2 separate regions of the Homo sapiens genome follow, and region 1 is linked to region 2. The links are contacts of gene promoters, found by promoter capture Hi-C in human tissues and cell types (Jung and others, 2019). All regions are on one chromosome and are shown on one strand. The core of a region is centred on a gene start or on the middle of the fragment in contact, and the rest is flanking DNA. Distances in the headings are between cores, read along the strand shown. Region 1 overlaps SPTAN1 (spectrin alpha, non-erythrocytic 1). Region 2 holds the start of TRUB2 (TruB pseudouridine synthase family member 2).

The links. Contacts are between HindIII fragments. The study calls those that stand out against the background at their distance.
Region 1: a fragment that was not itself captured here is called in contact with the fragment with the promoter of TRUB2 in region 2 in 1 of the 25 tissues and cell types used here (heart right ventricle).

What each region holds. Positions count from the first base shown.
Region 1 is chr9:128,625,575-128,628,274 of GRCh38, reverse strand. It overlaps SPTAN1 (spectrin alpha, non-erythrocytic 1), which reads right to left. Exons shown (of 57, transcript NM_001130438.3): 48 at 2,297-2,506; 49 at 1,588-1,884; 50 at 777-889; 51 at 333-350. Among named protein-coding and RNA genes, the nearest start is that of DYNC2I2, 30 kb to the left of the region's middle. RefSeq lists an enhancer at 608-1,253. The HindIII fragment of the contact is 6,522 bases long and covers 1-2,700 here.
Region 2 is chr9:128,321,090-128,323,819 of GRCh38, reverse strand. It overlaps TRUB2 (TruB pseudouridine synthase family member 2), which reads left to right and starts at 1,373. Exons shown (of 8, transcript NM_015679.3): 1 at 1,373-1,520; 2 at 2,090-2,221. The coding sequence starts at 1,412. It overlaps COQ4 (coenzyme Q4), which reads right to left and starts at 981. Exons shown (of 7, transcript NM_016035.5): 1 at 892-981; 2 at 673-804. The coding sequence starts at 961. RefSeq lists a silencer at 694-753 and an enhancer at 1,134-1,673. The HindIII fragment of the contact is 10,812 bases long and covers 1-2,730 here.

The DNA of each region.
Region 1 (2,700 bases), core at 201-2,700, 300 kb before region 2:
GGCTGGACAGGCACGGGGGTTCTTAGGGCCTCTGGACTCCAGCTCTGGCCTTCGTGCTTCATCACCTTCCCTACCCAAAGTGAGCCCTTGGAATCGCCCAGTGAGGCAAGGACGGCTCCCCCTGGCTTGAAGGCTCTATCGGGGACCAGGGACCATGGGCTATGGGGCAAGGCACACACTCCTCATCAGGTGACGAGAAGGGTGGGAGGGGAAGTGCAGCCCGCCCTGGGCAGGAAGGCCCATCCCGGGATCCTCCACAAGCCAGGCCACGAGGGGCAAGCGCACGAGACCCCCACATGACAAGCCCAGAGAAGGAAGAAAACAATATTAACCCATCGAGGAGGTATGTCCTGTGGAGAGCAGATCCAAGCAGCCGGGAGACAAGGTGGTGTCCGGACAACAGCAGCAATCGGGGGGACAGAGAGAAGACACAAGAAAGAAAGGAAAACAAAAGCAAGAACATCAGTACCCAACGCACAGACCCTGCATCGTCTGTCACCAAGTCATGGCTGGGGCTGACCACGCGCCCTGCATGGTCCCACTCAATCCGGGATCTCTAACAACTTGATGTCTGGGACATGCAGCACTGAGAGGCTGCTCCACCTATGCCCCCACTCCCGGCTCCAGAGCCCGACCAGGCGTTGCCAGCCCAGCTTTATTCCCAGGCTGCCTCTGGTTTTACACAAAGCACCACCACCTCCTTGGGGCTGGAAGCTCCCCAGGGCTTAAGTACAGCAGGGACATGCTGCTGCTCCCCGGCCCCAGCGGGCTGGCACCTGGTCTCTTGGATCCACTGGTGGAAGGCGTTGGCGTGCTGGGCAAACTCCTGGCGCAGCTTGTCGTTCTCCTCCTGCCGCCGCTGTTCCTTCTGCAGCTCCAGCTCCCTCTCCTGAGGGCCAAAGGGGGGCAGATGCTGTGCGCTGCTGTGGCAGTGACACCAGCCCCTCCTTCACAGATGGGCTCAGGGTGGTGGTGGCCTCCCCACAAGGAACCTCCCCAAAGATGAGAGGAGGAGGCTGGGAGACATGAGGCCGGCTCAGAGCACTTGGTAGTTCTTTCTCTGTTCCCACCCCCCAGGGGCTTCAAGGAAGAGGCGGACCTGGAGGGAAGCGACTGGTCAGTCAAGCAGGGAGTTGCTGGACTGTCAGAAATGGAAACTTCTGGCTGGGTACAGTGGCTCACACCTGTAATCCCAGCACTTTGGGAGGCCTGGGCAGGAGGACTGCTTGAGGCCAGGAGTTGAAGACCAGCCTGGGCAACATAGCAACACCCTGTCTACAAAAATTAAAATAATTAGCCAGGCGTGGTGGCACGTGCTTGTAGTCCCAGTTATTCAAGAGGCTCAGGCAAGAGGATCACCTGAGCCTGGGAGGTTGAGGCTACAGGGAGCCATGGTAGCACCACTGCACTGAAGCCTGGGTGACAGAGACCCTGCCTCAAGAACACAAAAAGAAATGAAACTTCTGATGAAACCATGCTCCTCCATCCTGCTCGTCTTGTCGTGACTCAGTTAAGTGTGGGCTCTGAGCAGGGCCCAGAGAGGGCTCTGGGAGGCCGAGCAGCTCCTGAGGGCAGCGGGAGGTGTACCTTGATGATTTTCTGTAGGTTCCTCCAGGTCTCCTCCAGGGCCTCCATGGTAAACCAGGTGTAGGGGTTGGAGGCTACGCGGAAGCTCTTGATCTGGCGGTCCAGCTCGGCCAGCTGGTTGAAGTCAGCCTGGGCAGAGCTGAGGGAGGAGCGGAAGGCGTCGTGGGCCTCGCGCAAAGCTTTGATTTCTTCCAAGGAGTTGCAGCGCACGGGGTCTGTTAAGTCCTCCTCTGCATTTTCAAACCAGCTGTTGAAGGCAGAAGCCTTTTTGGCGAAGGTCAGGAAGAGGTCCTCCACCTGGAAGCAGAAGAGACTGAGTTGGCGGAGTCGCCAGGGCTGGACGTGCCGACGCAGTGCAGGAGGTGGGGTGCGGGGTGGTTCCTGGGAATCAGAGGCGCACACAGCCTGCTGGGAGCTTAGCTCCCCTCTGCTCCTGTCTCCTGCTCCCCCTTCAAGTCTTCACCAGCCTTTTTTCCCCTTCCTACCCTTTGCCCTTGTCTCTAGTCTGTCCTGCGTGCTTCTGAATGGCGATCTCACAGGGCCCTCTCATTTGCCCTGGTTTTAATTGATGCCAGCCACACCCATGTTTGAAAGCTCTGCACTGAGCTCACAGCTTCCTCAAGGGGGAGTGGCAGAGCTGGGCAGACAGAAGGTGGGCGTCCTTCCTTGAGCTGTGGGCCAGCTAAGCTTCACGTGGCCCCATCCTCACCTTGCGGAAGTGACTCTGAGCCTCCAGAAGCTTCTTCTTGCGGGCGGCTGAGTTGGCCAGAAGCTGGCTCCACCTCTTCATGAGGGAGGCGTGCCGGGCCTCGATGGCCTTGGACTGAACGTGTTTGGCGGCGAGAAGCTGATCTTTGAGGGCAGTGATGTTGGCAATGCCTTCCTGCTGGAAGGCCTGCAGCCCAGCGTCAAAAGTTTCCTGAACAAGGAGTGACAAGCCAATTTGTGGTGACTCCACAGGACTGGAACTTGCTCTTCCTAGGCTCAGATGGCACCAGCATGTCCCCCAGATGCCCAAGCCAAACTGTCCACCTGGACACTGCTGAGACTCAGTCACACATGCCCCCTTTCCTGCTCTCCTTCAGACCGCAGATCACTGCGGCAGCCTCCTCC
Region 2 (2,730 bases), core at 124-2,623:
CAGCCCCAATTAATTCTTGTATTTTTTTTTGTAGAGATGGGGATTCACCGTGTTGCCCAGGCTGGTTTCAAACTCCTCAGCTCAAGCCATCTGCCCGCTTCGGCCCCCCGATAGGGATTATAGGCGTGAGCCACTATAATAGCGCCTAGCCTGTTTTTGTTAGTAGGAATAACAGTACTTCCCAGAACTCAAAAATCTAGGAGGCATAAGAAAAACACTGTAGAACCCTAGAATGTTCTAGTCACACATCCAGCAAACATTTATTGAGCATTTACTATGTGCCAGGCACTATCCAGAAGGCTGCAGATGCAGTGGAACGAGGCAGACATGGTCCTCGACCTCGGAGTTGACTTTCTAGTAGGATATTATAAACTGATCGGTACTTATGAATCATCTATTTAGTCTAGATGTTCTCAATATGGCTGCATGACAGATTCTCCCAAGTAGTTTAAAGACAGACTTTCGGTTTCACGCCCATTTCTCCCTCCACTGCAGATTCAGATTCAGATTCAGTGCGTTTAGGTGGGATCCAGGAATCTGCATTTTCATAAACGTTCCGAGTGGTTACGAGCTGCAACCAGGTTTGGGTACCCCGACCTAGGCTATGTTCCAGTTACCCACAGGAAACGGCTCCAAGCCGCCCCCACGGGGGCGAGGCGCGGGCGGCCTTACCGTGGCGGTAGGGGTTATAGAGCGCCATCGCCGCGGAGCCGGCGGCCAACAGCCCTTTCTGCAGCGGGGAGGTGGGGAGGTGGTGCGAGTATAGCGGGCCGGCGCCGTCGCTCCTAGCCCGGAGGGGCATTTCTGCGGGGCAAGAAAAAGGCCGAGGTCAGAGGAGCCGGGCGCCCTCAGGCTCCTTCCCGCCTGCGCCCAGAACCCGGCGCCACTTGCCTGCCGCAGGCCGCTGTAGGCCCGGGAGCCCGCAGAGCCGACGGAGGACAGGGCGCAGCAGAGTCGCCATGGCAGCGGGCGTCCGCGGAGGATGGGCGGGTACGAAGAACGCCGCGATTCTGTCAGGCGACGGAGCGTCGGAGGGGTCAAAACTCACTGAAAAACCGATTCTGACGGCGTAGCCTACGGCCTTTCGAGGGGAAACATCGCTTCACGGGCAGAAGGCATGTAGGCCAAGTAGGCGAAGGAAACGCACGCGAACTGTCTACCGTCTACGTCCACCGATCCAAGACTCTCGCCATGTCACCTCGCCCCAGAAAGTGTCTGCAAAGGACACGCAACCACGCTCACTCAGCGCCGGGCCCTATTTCCTTCTCCACAGCCGGTTTTCCCCGAAGACTATAAAATGCGAACCTCTTCCGGCTGTGGAACATGGCGGCGCCCGTGGAAAGGACCACATTTGGGGGCGGGGCCTGGCGGTACTTCCGTCCAGGTCCAGCGGGTGCTGTGATCTTCAAGTATGGGGTCTGCTGGCTTGTCGCGGCTGCATGGGCTTTTCGCGGTCTATAAGCCCCCGGGGCTAAAATGGAAGCACCTGCGGGATACAGTGGAGCTACAACTTCTGAAGGGTGAGTGCCTCGAACCAGACCCACGTTCCCGCTCTCGTTCTCTTGGAAGTCCATCTCCGCTTCTGGTCCTTACCCCAAAACAAAATCACGTGACCTATTCACCTGGGCAGAGCGCTTTCCCAAACGCCTGTTCTCTGTGCTTTCTTACTCCTCACTTTCCTCTGTTTTCCGAGGGGGAAACTGACTCAGTATTGTTCCTTGTCACACGGTTACTACGTTGTAGAGTCTGTTTGAATCCGCCTGTTTCTTAACTACTGCTATACTGCCCTCTGCACCATGGGCTTCTGCTTTGTCTTCTACATCATACTTCCCTGTTGTCTAATCCCCCAAGTGTTTGGACAGAACAAGATATTCCTGGTCAGCATCGTGGTGCACGCCTGTAATCCCAGCTACTCTGGAGGCTGAGGCAGGAGGATCGCTTGAGCCCAAGAGTTTGACGTTACAGTGAGCTATGATGGCGCCATTGCACTTCAGCCTGGGCTACAGAACGAGGCCCTGTCTCTTAAAAAATATTTTATATGTACATATATTTGTATGTATGTGTGTATATATTATCTCTGTGTGTTCAGGTCTCAATGCCAGGAAGCCTCCCGCTCCTAAACAGCGTGTTCGCTTCTTGCTGGGCCCCATGGAAGGCAGCGAAGAGAAGGAGCTGACCCTCACAGCCACCAGCGTACCCTCTTTCATCAACCATCCACTGGGTAAGGCAGATTTAAGCAGGATCCTGTGTGTCACTTCCCAGGAAATCCCTGAGCCGAGTCAGTGTCCCAGTGCTCAGATTCCTGTGCCAGGCCCTTGAAGGTCCACAGAGGAGTGAGGTATTAGACCAGGAATTGGCAGATTTCCTTGGAAAGGGCCAGATACTGAATGTTTTAGTTTTCAGGCCATGTGATTTCCGTTGGAACTGCTCAACTCTGCCAATGTAGTGCCAAACAGCTATAGACAGTATCTAAAGGAATGAGCCTAGCTGTATTCCAATAGAACTTTATGAATATTCATATTTGAACTTCAGGTAATTTTCACGTGTCACTAAGTACAGTTGCCTCTGAGTCCATGAGTTCCACATCCCATGATCCAGCTTCAGATTGGCAGTATTTGGGAAGAAAAACACAAAGTTCCAAAAAGCAAAACTTGAATTTGCTGTGCACCTAGTACTGTGTTGAATCCACTCAAGGTGATGCATAGGCATTATATTAGGCATTATAAGTAA